4 separate regions of the Homo sapiens genome follow, and all the other regions are linked to region 3. The links are contacts of gene promoters, found by promoter capture Hi-C in human tissues and cell types (Jung and others, 2019). All regions are on one chromosome and are shown on one strand. The core of a region is centred on a gene start or on the middle of the fragment in contact, and the rest is flanking DNA. Distances in the headings are between cores, read along the strand shown. Region 1 overlaps MAP2K6 (mitogen-activated protein kinase kinase 6). Region 2 has its middle 3.1 kb from the start of LINC01483. Region 3 holds the start of KCNJ2 (potassium inwardly rectifying channel subfamily J member 2). Region 4 overlaps LINC01483 (long intergenic non-protein coding RNA 1483).

What was found. Contacts are between HindIII fragments. The study calls those that stand out against the background at their distance.
Region 1: a fragment that was not itself captured here is called in contact with the fragment with the promoter of KCNJ2 in region 3 in 1 of the 25 tissues and cell types used here (IMR-90 fibroblasts).
Region 2: a fragment that was not itself captured here is called in contact with the fragment with the promoter of KCNJ2 in region 3 in 1 of the 25 tissues and cell types used here (dorsolateral prefrontal cortex).
Region 4: a fragment that was not itself captured here is called in contact with the fragment with the promoter of KCNJ2 in region 3 in 1 of the 25 tissues and cell types used here (dorsolateral prefrontal cortex).

Annotation. Positions count from the first base shown.
Region 1 is chr17:69,524,267-69,527,171 of GRCh38, reverse strand. MAP2K6 (mitogen-activated protein kinase kinase 6) reads right to left here. Exons shown (of 12, transcript NM_002758.4): 9 at 2,194-2,271; 10 at 463-602. Among named protein-coding and RNA genes, the nearest start is that of MAP2K6-AS1, 40 kb to the right of the region's middle. The HindIII fragment of the contact is 4,624 bases long and covers 1-2,905 here.
Region 2 is chr17:69,589,295-69,592,427 of GRCh38, reverse strand. No RefSeq gene overlaps it. Among named protein-coding and RNA genes, the nearest start is that of LINC01483, 3.1 kb to the left of the region's middle. The HindIII fragment of the contact is 8,856 bases long and covers 1-3,133 here.
Region 3 is chr17:70,168,132-70,171,018 of GRCh38, reverse strand. KCNJ2 (potassium inwardly rectifying channel subfamily J member 2) reads right to left here and starts at 1,487. Exons shown (of 2, transcript NM_000891.3): 1 at 1,318-1,487. It overlaps KCNJ2-AS1 (KCNJ2 antisense RNA 1), which reads left to right and starts at 1,617. Exons shown (of 1, transcript NR_036534.1): 1 at 1,617-2,887. RefSeq lists a silencer at 1,432-1,891. The HindIII fragment of the contact is 1,534 bases long and covers 1,348-2,881 here.
Region 4 is chr17:69,609,680-69,612,737 of GRCh38, reverse strand. All of the region lies in intron 2 of LINC01483 (long intergenic non-protein coding RNA 1483), which reads right to left. Among named protein-coding and RNA genes, the nearest start is that of LINC01483, 17 kb to the right of the region's middle. The HindIII fragment of the contact is 7,727 bases long and covers 1-3,058 here.

The DNA of each region.
Region 1 (2,905 bases), core at 131-2,630, 640 kb after region 3:
CTTTAATCAACATCAAATTGCTTAAAGCTCACATAAAGGAGTTTCTTGCTTTCGTGACATTGTGAATGATGTTCCTTCTGTTTGGAATATGTTTCCTTTCCTATTTCCCTTTTGTCTGGAAAATTCCTCTCGTGATCGCAGCTCCAGATTTATCTCCTCCAGAAAAGCCTATCCTGAGGTCTTCCCTCTGAGTTCCTTAAATCGCCTATGCCCCTATCTCTATCACTGGACTTGCCACATTATACTATAATTATTCATTTATGAGACTTCTCTACTTGACTTTGGGCTCAGTGAGGGCAGGGAGTGTGATACGGTCATCTTTGCTTCTCCAGCAGAGAGGGCATACTCCACAAATGCTTTCGGAATGAATGTATGCATGATGGATTCAACCCCGATGGAAGAAATTCATGAGAACTCATCTTCTTCTTTCACACTGACACTTGGGAGGTGAGGCTGTCTTACCACTGTGAGGTAAAGTCAACAAACTCTGCAGAGAACTTGTCTGCTGGGAGTTGTGGCGATGGCTCCTCTACCACCTGTTTGAGCTGCTGAAATGGAGTTCCCCATGAATCATAGGGAAATCGAAGGATGGCCAACTCAATCTGGAGAAAAGAAGAAAAAAGGAGACAACAGTTTCAACAGGGCTGCTTTAGGGAATCACCCACGTTTCATTTGTGGATAGACAGCAGGAAACACAAGGCAAAGTTCAAGTATAAGTCCAGGGGTAGGGGGGCAGGAAATAAACTAATAATTTGTTCTCTAGCAATTTTCCCCAAATTCCTAGTGCTAGGGATTTTTAAATATTACTTACTAGACACAGCCACTTAAGCCTATCTAAAATGGGGACCCTCACTAAAACCCACTGTGGCACTTCATAAAAATTGTAAGCCAACCGTATTAAACTTCAGGATGTAAAGCTACGAGGATTTCAAACGTTTGGTCTGACAAGTAATTCCCAGCCTAAGATCTTTCCAGAGCCGAGCATCTACTGCCACCTTCAGGTCCCTTGGTGAAATGACAGGGAGAAAAAGCAACCTAGAACCAAATGACAGATCTTTTTTTGGACTTGAGAAAAGGCCACTTTGCATTACAGGATCATGTGCTTTCTGGGCAGGCAGGAGAAATAACTCATGGGATTTATTCAGCTGCTGTGCCTGGGGAGGAGCCAGGACCACAGTGGATAATTCCAGACCTTGGTGATCCACTGAAAATGTATGACCACCAAAGTTATGAAATTTACAATCACCAAAGTTATGAATAAGTTATGAATAAATCATATAACTTTAGGGCTGTGTCTAAGGAAATCATCCTATTGGTTATCATGTATTGAGGATATACCTGACTGATACGGTTGGGCTGTGTCCCCACCCAAATCTCATCTTGAATTGTAGCTCCCATAATTCCTACATGTTGTGGGAGGGACCCAGTGGGAAACAATTGAATCATGGGGGTGGTTCCCCCATACTGTTCTATGGTTCTCATGGTAGTGAAAAAGTCTCACGAGATCTGATGGTTTTATGAAGCATCTCCCTTTTCACTTGGCTGTCTCATCTCATTCTCTCTTGTCTGCCGCCATATAAGATGTGCCTTTCACCTTCCGCCATGATCGTGAGGCCTCCCCAGCTGCATGGAACTGTGAGTCCATTAAACCTCTTTTTCTTTTAAATTACTCAGTCTTGGGGATGCTTTTATCAGCAGTGTGAAAACGAACTAATACACTGACCTGATCAGACTTTGACTTCTACTTCTCCAATAAAAATATCCTGGGAAGCATAGTCTATGTCCTGGATAACACGGCCCTATCAGGGTTCACGCACATTAGCATTCTTTGCACAGCTTAAGCTTCTTGCCTTGGCTCGAATAATTTAATTTTAAACTATAAGGAATCTGGTCAGATCCTCTCGTTTTACAGAGGAGGATAGGAAGATAGTCCATGTGACTGTAACAATTACTCAAAAAGGCATACAGCTCGTCAGAGGTGGAATCAAGAGAAAGATTGGTTTCCCCAATCCCATATCAGTGTTTTTATTGTACCACAATACAAACAATTATTACTCAAAATCTCCTACCAGCTCAGCAGGAGAGGGCGCCCCAAACCAGCATTTAGGGCATTTGTTTCTTGAACCCAACGTCCACCTCATTCTAGTTTCATTACCCACAACCTCATAGTTCATGATGATTGGCATACACTACCATCGTGATGCCCAGACTCCAAATGTCAGACTTCACACTGTATCCCTTCTGGTTGAGCTCTGGGTTTATTCTTTCAGGCTGGAAAGAAGACAGACAACTGAGAAACTGGGAAGACAATTGAGATAACGTTCTTAGCTCAATAGTCTCTGGGGATGGGGGTAGCACCAGCTGCCAAGTGAGTTGTTATAAGCTGTTAACATGCCACCAAGGCCAAGAAGACCCGGTTAACTACAACAAATATCAATGCCTCCGTGGGGTTTCCCTTCTTCTGTGTTTGTCTTTTCTTGGACACAGTAATGGATCAAGTTCCTTTCATAACAAATTTAAAATTTGCCTTAAGAAGAAACAGGGTATACATTATAAAGCTACTTTGCCCATCTAGAATTATCCTTGTTTAAAACATGAACAGTCCAGAACTCAATAAAACAAGTGTCACTGGGCTACTGTCCCATGCTAATAGACCTGAGCAATTTTTAGCTAAACACAGACAGGAAGCTTTTCAATTCAAAGCACAAGTCCATTTCCAGGTAGAATCTAGTGGCCGTTCCTCCAGTTAAAGGGGATTGCAAGGTCTCTGCTAATGACGGTGAATCTTCACAGCTGTGAGGTCCTCTCATAACTAATCTAACTGCCTTGTTTGGGTAATTTAAGCTCTATTTACTATTTTGTCCTCAACAAACAAGGTAATACTCCCCTGCAATACAGTGTGGAA
Region 2 (3,133 bases), core at 339-2,838, 580 kb after region 3:
TGCCTGTAATCCCAGCTACTGGGGAGGCTGAGGCAGGAGAATCTCTTGAACCCGGGAGGCGGAGGTTGCAGTGAGCCAAGATCACGCCACTGCACTCCAGCCTGGGTGACAGAGCAAGACTTTGTCTCAAAAAAAAGAAAAATCGCTTTGGGCAACCACCATAATAGTAATTGTTATAGAGATGAACTATCAGTGGATGCTAAAACTACTGGTGGAAGTTTGATTTAAAATATGATACTTACATAAACTCAAAGCATTTTCCCACAAGATACGTATTAAGGACAAAGGGAAAAACAATTTTACAGTGGAGAAACCTTATCATCTTAACCAAAGGGATCAAAATTACCACCAATAATGAGAAAAATAGACATCATGTGCGCCCCATTAGATTGCACTAAGAAAGACAAAACATCACATCTGAGTATTGCCAAAAATGCTTAACATAAATCAAATCACGAGAAAAGTTCACAAACCTACACTGAAATGTGGTATACAAAATAAATGTCCTGTATTTATCAAAAGTATCAAGGTCATGAACAATAAAGAAACACCAAATAATTGTTTTACAATGAAAGAGAATAAAAAGACATAACAATCAAATATAATATGTGATCACGGACAGGATGCCAAATGAGAATTATTTTTTTTTTTTGCAGTAAAAGACATTATGGACAAATGATAAAATTCGATAAGATCTATCAACCAGATGAAGCCTCACAAGTGTTTCCTCTAGAAGATCAGATGGTAAATGTTTTCAGAGACTGCAGGCCATGTAGTCTCTACCACAACTATTTAACAATACCATTGTAGGCAGAAAGCAGCCAAGGATGGTCCATAAACAAATGGGCATGGCTATGTTCCAATAAACCTTTATTTACAAACATAACTGGGAAGGCACATTTGCCAACTGCTGGACTAAATTAATACTAGATCAATATTAATTTCCTAATTTGCTTATTGTACTGCAGTTATGTGAAAGAACATTTATTTTTAGGAAACATGTACTTAAGCATTTTGGGATAAAAGACATCATATTTGCAACTTACTCCCAAAAATTTCAGAGAAAGAAAAAGAAGACAAGTAATAAACAAGCTGAAATTTGAATATTTGGGGAAACTGGTGAAGGATATATGGAAACTCTCAGTACTATTTTTGCAAATTGTCTTTAAGTCTGAGATAATTTCAAAAACAAAGAGTTAAAAGCCAAACATGGTGGTACGTGACTCCTCTAGTCCCAGCTACTCAGGAGGCTGAGGTGGGAGGAGCCTAGGAGTTCAAGACCAGCCTGGGCAGCATAGGGAGACCCTCTCTCTTAAAAACAAATCAATTTAAAGTTGAGAAAATGAATTATGGGAGGAAGCCCAAGTGGAATAATGCCATGTAGATACAGAAGATGACTTGAGAGGTAGGAGTGTAATAGACAGTCAGCAGCAAGACATAAAAGTTGCAGTTGACAGAGATAATGGGGATAAAATTTCCTCTAGGGCTGCCTTTTAAAGACCAACTTAAATAAAACTGATTCCCATTTTCTTACAGGCCATAACTTTCAATGATGCCCCAAAGGCACAATTCACATAAATGTTCCGCCCACTATGCATTGTGTGCAAAATGCATAACTCTGAAGGGAAATTGCATCTACATTTTCTCCTCCTCAACTCCCACATTGTTGGGGTTGTCTGAGCATTTCAAATGCCACAGAAATACTTTGCAGAGCACAAAGAGCTGCCAAACACTGCAACCAAAGTTTGTCCAGACATATGCATAAGTAACTGGGATGTGAATTATGAGACTGTGGAAATAAAATCTTTACCTCTCAGACAGTTTCTAAGGCAATGCCTTAGAAATGATAAGAACAAGAGGCAGGAGGGTGGGGGTCCCCAGCAAAGGCCCTACCCTCAAGCCTAGATACCTGAGGCCCTAAATGGGAACAGGCATTCCAGTTTTTGCACCCAAAAGTTGCCTTTTGTCCTGCCACACTCCCCTATCCTTTGCCCATATAAAACACAAATCCCCAGCTCTAGGAGGAGAGAAGCAGACAAAGAGAAGAGCAGAAGAGTAGTAGAGAAGGGGAGAAGAGAAGGAATGTCGGGAGGAGTTTGGCTGGGGACGGTTGGAGAATCAGCCACTGGACAGCCAAACCCCAGGGAAAGATCATCTTCCCACTCCATCCCCTTCCCAGCTCCCCATCCACCCCCTAAGAAAGACCTCCACCACTCAATAAAACCCCTGCATTCACCATCCTTCAAATCCGTCTGTGACCCAATTTTTCTGGGATGCTGGACAAGAGCTCAGAATACAGAAAGCTGTCACTCTGGCCCTCCATCCTTGCAAAAAGGCAGAGGGTCCACTGAACTGGTTAATACTTAAGCTTCACATGGACGGCAAGGTTAAAAGAGCTCACTATAACACACACCTGCTTGGGCTCCTGCCCCTATCTGTCTGTGTGCTCCCCCTCCCATAAGGGGTTTGAGCAGTGGCAGCTACCGAACAGATGAGCCACACCCCTGTCACATGTCCTGCAAGGGGGGTCAGGGAACTCTCCCATTTCAGAACTATGATAAAAATTTGGACAGTCATCCTGATATTATACAAATTTGAAAAATTAACCTTCCCTCTGGTAAGGTAACAAGAGAAACCCAAAATATGGGGGGAGGGGTGCTCTACACCGCAAAGGTTCAATTCTTGCTCATGCTAAGTCCAGTGCAGAATTTTTTACAGGAAAATTCTCTCCAGGACTTCTCCATCTCATGTTGCCACCATTTCCCCATCTCAGCTCCCAAGGCCTCTGCAGCACAGGAGGAAAGAACCCAAGAGTCATGGAGGGATTTGGGGGGCAGAAATCAAAGGAGCAGACATCACTTCTGCTCACAACCCGTTTGCCAAAACGGGTCCACAGCTCGAACTTAATCGCAAGCAAGGCTGAGAAAGGAAGGCAAGGAAGCCCTGATATTTTGTGAGCACTAAATATCTCTGCCACCAAATCTCTTCTGGTTTTTGTTTAGTAAAAACCCATAAACTTTTATCAAGATTGTCATTTAATAGAGAATGGAATTGGATACATACCAAGACTCCCCCATACACATGTACTGTGTTTAATAGGACAAACTGACTGACATGTGATCAATAGGATCTT
Region 3 (2,887 bases), core at 238-2,737:
CTCAGGAATCCAAAGGATGTAGAAAGACTGTGTTCTTTTATTTTTTTTAAAAGCAAAATTCACATGAGTTTAGATCAAATATTTCTTATGGAGACCAAGAACATTAAAAAATAAAGTGTCATTAAAATATGAGAGAGGAGGAAGCTAAGTAAAATGGCCTTGACCTTATCCTCACCCTTTCCACCATGCTTCAATTAACATCTCTTACCCCTTCTGAGCACCAGGATTTTTCCAGATAATGGCAAATAGAAATGAAACATTTGGAAGTGAGCAGGAAAACGCTAACAAGTGTACAGATAATGTACAGCAGACACACAACATTGGTTGGCGAGAGGAAATCTGGCAGCCTATTGATTATTAATGTGAAAAGAAAACAAATGATAAAACGCAATATGGTTTCTTTGCATATCCGAGGTTTTCAAATAACACCTTATTTCCTAACAGGTAAAATCTGAATTTATGAAAATCGTCGGAATTCACAGCCTTTTATCCTAGTGATCATCCTATGATATCCTTACCCAGACACAGACATTAAACTGCCCATTCCCTATCCCTATTTTTTTTCCAATTGTCATGATGAATCCACGCTATGATGCAATCTTTTTGCAGAATCAAGTCGTTTTGACTATTTTGCTTTCCTAAAACCACACTGTCTTCAAGCCAGGTATTAATACCATTATTACTGAAAATAACAAATTGGTTAGGGGAGAGTGATATGTAATGTGAAAGTTTTGCGATCCTCAGGCTCAAATCCAACTCGGGCTCCCGCTCTTCTTTCAGGAAGGCAACTTTGAGACACTCACTCTGTTTGAAACTCACAGCTATACTTGAAGCAATGACGAAAAAAAAAAAAAGCCAAGGATCAAGAATAGTGCTGAGTCCCAAGCTTTGCCAAGGTTTAAGACCAGGGCTCAAGACGCACCCCCAAACCCGCAACCACGTTTTCTTTCTTTTTTTCCCCACTTAGAGTGAGAACCGAACACAGACGCTCTCGCCCTTGCCTCCAAACCCAGTATCTCGCTACAGCTGGTGCATTGGAAGTTATGAGCACAAACAGATGCTGCAGAGAAATCTGTTTCTATTGCTCAACTGTTCCAAGCATGTCTCAGTATTTTTAGCTCTGGGGATGTTCTGGTGCGCACACAAACTATATAGGCATGATCTGGGACTCCGGAGTGTGGGTGAGCGCTACAGCAGTGTGACAGCTGGGCACCTCTGGAGCAGCGGGGCAGGGTAGGGTAGGGGACGGCGGCCAGAGTCCATTCCCCAGGACACACCGGCAGCGAGCGAAAAGGAAGAAAACACAGCAGCCCTTACCTGTTGCTGGCGCAGGAGCATGGGGACATGGAGTGGAAGTGGGGGGTACAGAGGCATGTAAGATCCAGTGGTTTGTAAAAAGCGAGTGAGCCAAAGCAAACCAGAATTCCCAAGACCCAGCCCGCCGGCGCCGGGAAGGCTGCGCGCTGGCCAGGGCTCCAGTGCGCTCTGCAATATCCTGGGCTCTTTTGAGGCGGTCCGTGCGACACCGGCTCTCCTGGCCCCGCCCCCGGCCGCTGCCGGCCAATCGCAGCGCGCCTGGCCGCGCGGCCGGCCCCGGGAACCGCGGCGGGGAGGGGAGGATGCTGCGAGGCGTTGCCAGCGGAGGGAACCTGCCGCCGCCTCGTCCCCCTCCACCCTCGGAGCCCGGCCGGGGAGTCGGGCCCGGGCCGGGGAGGAGGAAGTTGCGGCCCAGCTGGGACAGCAGCAGGTGGGAAGCTCCGCGCCCGGCTGTTGCGGCTGCCTGATTGCAGCCTGGCCTTGGGCAAAGCTTCCTACTCCGTCTGGAGCCCCACACACTTCCCGGTTCCCCCGCTCTTGGGCCGCTTGCCCTGCGTGCTCCTCGAGGGGCCTGCGAGGTGCCAGCGCCGGGTAGAGACCTTTGCCGCAGGGGCAGGATTGTTCGTCGGTCCCGGCGCGTCTCCCTCTCCACTCCCTCTCTGCCGGAGCCCCTCGGCCCTTCGAAGCCCCCCGCGGAGGCTGCAGCGCCCGGAGAAGCCACTGAGTCAATGGGGCGAGGGACTGGGGCGGGCGCGCAGAGCCCCCAGGATTGAGACGCGCGCAAGTGCGGCCACTGCAGCGCCGCTTGGCTGTTTGTTCTCCCGACTGTTCGCGAATTACTTACAAGGCGCCTAGGCTTCTCCGAAGGGTGGACGGCTCGTTCCCTCTCGCCTTGTCCGCCCTCAGTCTCTCCACCACCGCCCGGCACGCTTTGCTGATCTAAAATCAGAACAATTAGAGAGTAATGATTTTTTTTGGAATAGCAACTCCTACAGACACTCAGATCTGCCCTCGCTTCAGCGCCTCCCAGCCCTCCTTCCCAGCAGCCAGGCGAGAGCGCGCAGACCCCTAAAAAGCAACTTCAGTGTTAACCGGGTCTGGATCCTGGAACTTTATAAACTAATCCGTGTGTGTGTGTGTGTGTGTGTGTGTAAACCGAAGAGTAAGTGCCTATTATTTCTGAGTACTTCGGTGTCCTAACGAAGCTTTGCTCCTAAAGGACAGGATATATTTTAGGAGTCTTTCTTTCCACTGAGTTTTTTAAATGTTTATTTTCTCGAGCGATCAAATGTGTCTTTTGTGCAGTTTATTTAAACCTCGTAAGGCCTCCTTGAGTCGCTGAACTAATTCAGCAAACTAGCTGGTATTGTGGACGGCGCAGTCGGGGTGGATTTTTGTGTGTAGGAGAGGTGAAACTGACAATTCAAGGAAAGGTTCTGTGCGAGTCCCCACCTCCCATCCTCATATCCACACGTGGCCCCTAGGAGGTGCTGGTGAAATATGCTTGCTTAGGTTTCGCAGATCCGCACTTACTCCTGCCTTAACAAGTGTGCCTTTTTTCTTAGCACTG
Region 4 (3,058 bases), core at 94-2,593, 560 kb after region 3:
GACATTTATGCAGCCAAAAGACACATGAAAAAATGCCCATCATCACTGGCCATCAGAGAAATGCAAATCAAAACCACAATGAGATACCATCTCACACCAGTTAGAATGGCAATCATTAAAAAGTCAGGAAACAACAGGTGCTGGAGAGGATGTGGAGAAACAGGAACACTTTTACACTGTTGGTGGGACTGTAAACTAGTTCAACCATTGTGGAAGTCAGTGTGGCGATTCCTCAGGGATCTAGAACTAGAAATACCATTTGACCCAGCCATCCCATTACTGGGTATATACCCAAAGGACTATAAATCATGCTGCTATAAAGACACATGCACACATATGTTTATTGTGGCACTATTCACAATAGCAAACACTTGGAACCAACCCAAATGTCCAACAATGATAGACTGGATTAAGAAAATGTGGCACATATACACCATGGAATACTATGCAGCCATAAAAAATGATGAGTTCATGTCCTTTGTAGGGACATGGATGAAATTGGAAATCATCATTCTCAGTAAACTATCGCAAGGACAAAAAACCAAACACTGCATGTTCTCACTCCTAGGTGGGAATTGAACAATGAGAACACATGGACACAGGAAGGGGAACATCACACTCTGGGGACTGTTGTGGGGTGGGGGGAGGGGGGAGGGATAGCATTAGGAGATATACCTAATGCTAAATGATGAGTTAATGGGTGCAGCGCACCAGCATGGCACATGTATACATATGTAACTAACCTGCACATTGTGTACATGTACCCTAAAACTTAAAGTATAATAATAATAAAATTAAAAAAATGATTATAAAAAAAAAGGAAAAAAAAACTGACCTCTTTTACCTAAAGGTTTTTTATTTTTCCCCCACAAGGTCATACATACTGTTTTTTTTTCTTTTTTAAATTTTAATGTAGTAAGGAACACTTAACACTTACCACATCTACCCTCCCACCAGATTCTTAAGTGTTCAATATAGTAATTGCTGTGCACATACAGAATGTTGCATAGCAGATCTCTGGGGCTTATGCATCCTGCATAACTGATTTTTTGCCCTTTGATTAGCAACTCCCCATTTTCCCCTCCCCTCAGCCCCTGGCAACCACGATTCTCTTCTTTGCTTTCTTGACTTTGGCTGGCAGAGACAAATTCTTAGTAATCACCTATAAAACTGCTAAATTTAGATTTCTGAAGGTTTTAAACTACTGAGAGGGCAGTTGGCAAGGCTTTATTCCTGATTCTCGACTGCACTTATATATATCTAACTACTAGCACCTGCCTTGGCCTTCCTCCTTTCAATCTTGTATTAGTCTGTTCTCACGCTCCTATCAAGAAATACCTAGGCTGGGCATGGTGGCTCACACCTGTAATCCCAGCGGTTTGGGAGGCTGAAGCAGGTAGATCGCCTGAGCTCAGAAGTTTGAGACCAGGGTGAAACCCTGTCTCTACAAAAAATACAGAAATTAGTCACGCGTGGTGGTACACACCTGTGATTCCAGCTACTCTAGAGGCTGAGGTGGGAGGTTGGCTTGAGCCTGGGAGGTGAAGGTTGCAAAGAGCCAAGATCACACCACTGTACTCCAGCCTGGGTGACAGAGCCAGACTCTGTCTCAAAAACAAACAAAAAAAAAGAAATAAGAAAGAAAGAAAGGCCTGAGACTGAGTAATTTATAAAGAAAAGAGGTTTCATTGGCTCACAATTCTGCAGGCTGTACAGGAAGAATGACAGCATCTGCTTGGTTTCTAGGGAGGCCTCAGGAAACTTACAATCATGGTGGAAGGCAAAGGGGAAGCCAGCACTTCATATGTCCAGAGCAGGAGCAAGAGAGAGAGGGACGGGGGAGGTGCCACATACTTTTAAACAACCAGATCTTGTGAGAACTTACGACACAGTACCAAGAGGGGATGATACTAAAGCATTCATGAGAATTCCACCTCCATGATCCAGTCACCTCCCACCAGGCCCCACTTCCAATATTGGGGATTACAATTTAACAGGAGATTTGGGCAGGGACACAAATCCAAACCATATCAAATCTGTGATGTTGCTTTCTTACCACCTATATCACTACCTACTCACAGCTATAAATAATAGAGAAAATAATGCATTTACAATAGCATATCTCATAGTTTCTATCTGCCTGCCAATGTAATGACAAGCAACCTCAGCAGAAACTCAAAGATAGCAGAATGCAATTCTAATCAGAAAAATGCCCCTAACAGTTCAGTGGCTCACTCCAATCTGTAGCAAGCTCACTCACATAACACTCCACCCAGAGATCTCTGCAGCTGATATGGTTTGGCTCTGTGTCCCCGCCCAAATCTCACTTTGAATTGTAATAATCCTCATGTGTCAAGGGTGGGACCAGGTGGAGGGAATCGGATCATGGTGGCAGTTTCTCCCATGCTGTTCTCGTGATAATGAGTGAGTCTCAAGAGATCCGATGGTTTTATAAGCATCTGGCATTTCCCCTGCTTGCATTCATTCTCTCTGCTGCCACCCTGTGAAGAGATGCCTTCCACCATGATTGTAAGATTCCTGAGGCCTCCGCAGCCATGCAGAACTGAGTCAATTAAACCTCTTTTCTTTATAAATTACCCAGTCTTGGGTATTTCTTCATAGCAGTGTGAGAACAGACTAATACAGCAGCTGTTATCCATCAGCAACATCAGCCTTACTTAGATGGTTAAAAATAAAATGTTGTATTTGGGGTGGGGGTCAGGGTGAATGGGGAAGGCAGTGGCTAGCCCAAGGCATTTTCTTGCTCAAGGAATGATTTTTGAAGATTTACAATTGTTTCTGTTCCTCTTCACTGGTATTTTCACCAGATGGATTTTTTGCTAAATGCCGCAGAGAAAATCATTAGCCAGCTTATATCCCTTGAGTAATGGTATTTAATGGTTTTATGCAGAAAAGTTACATTAATATAAATCAGTGGTCCTCGACAGGTGGCAATCCTTCCCTATCCCAACATTTAGCAAATTCTGGAGACATTTTAGGGGCAGGAAATTCTAGCGGCATCTAGTGGCAAGGGCCAGGGATGCTACTAAATACCCTA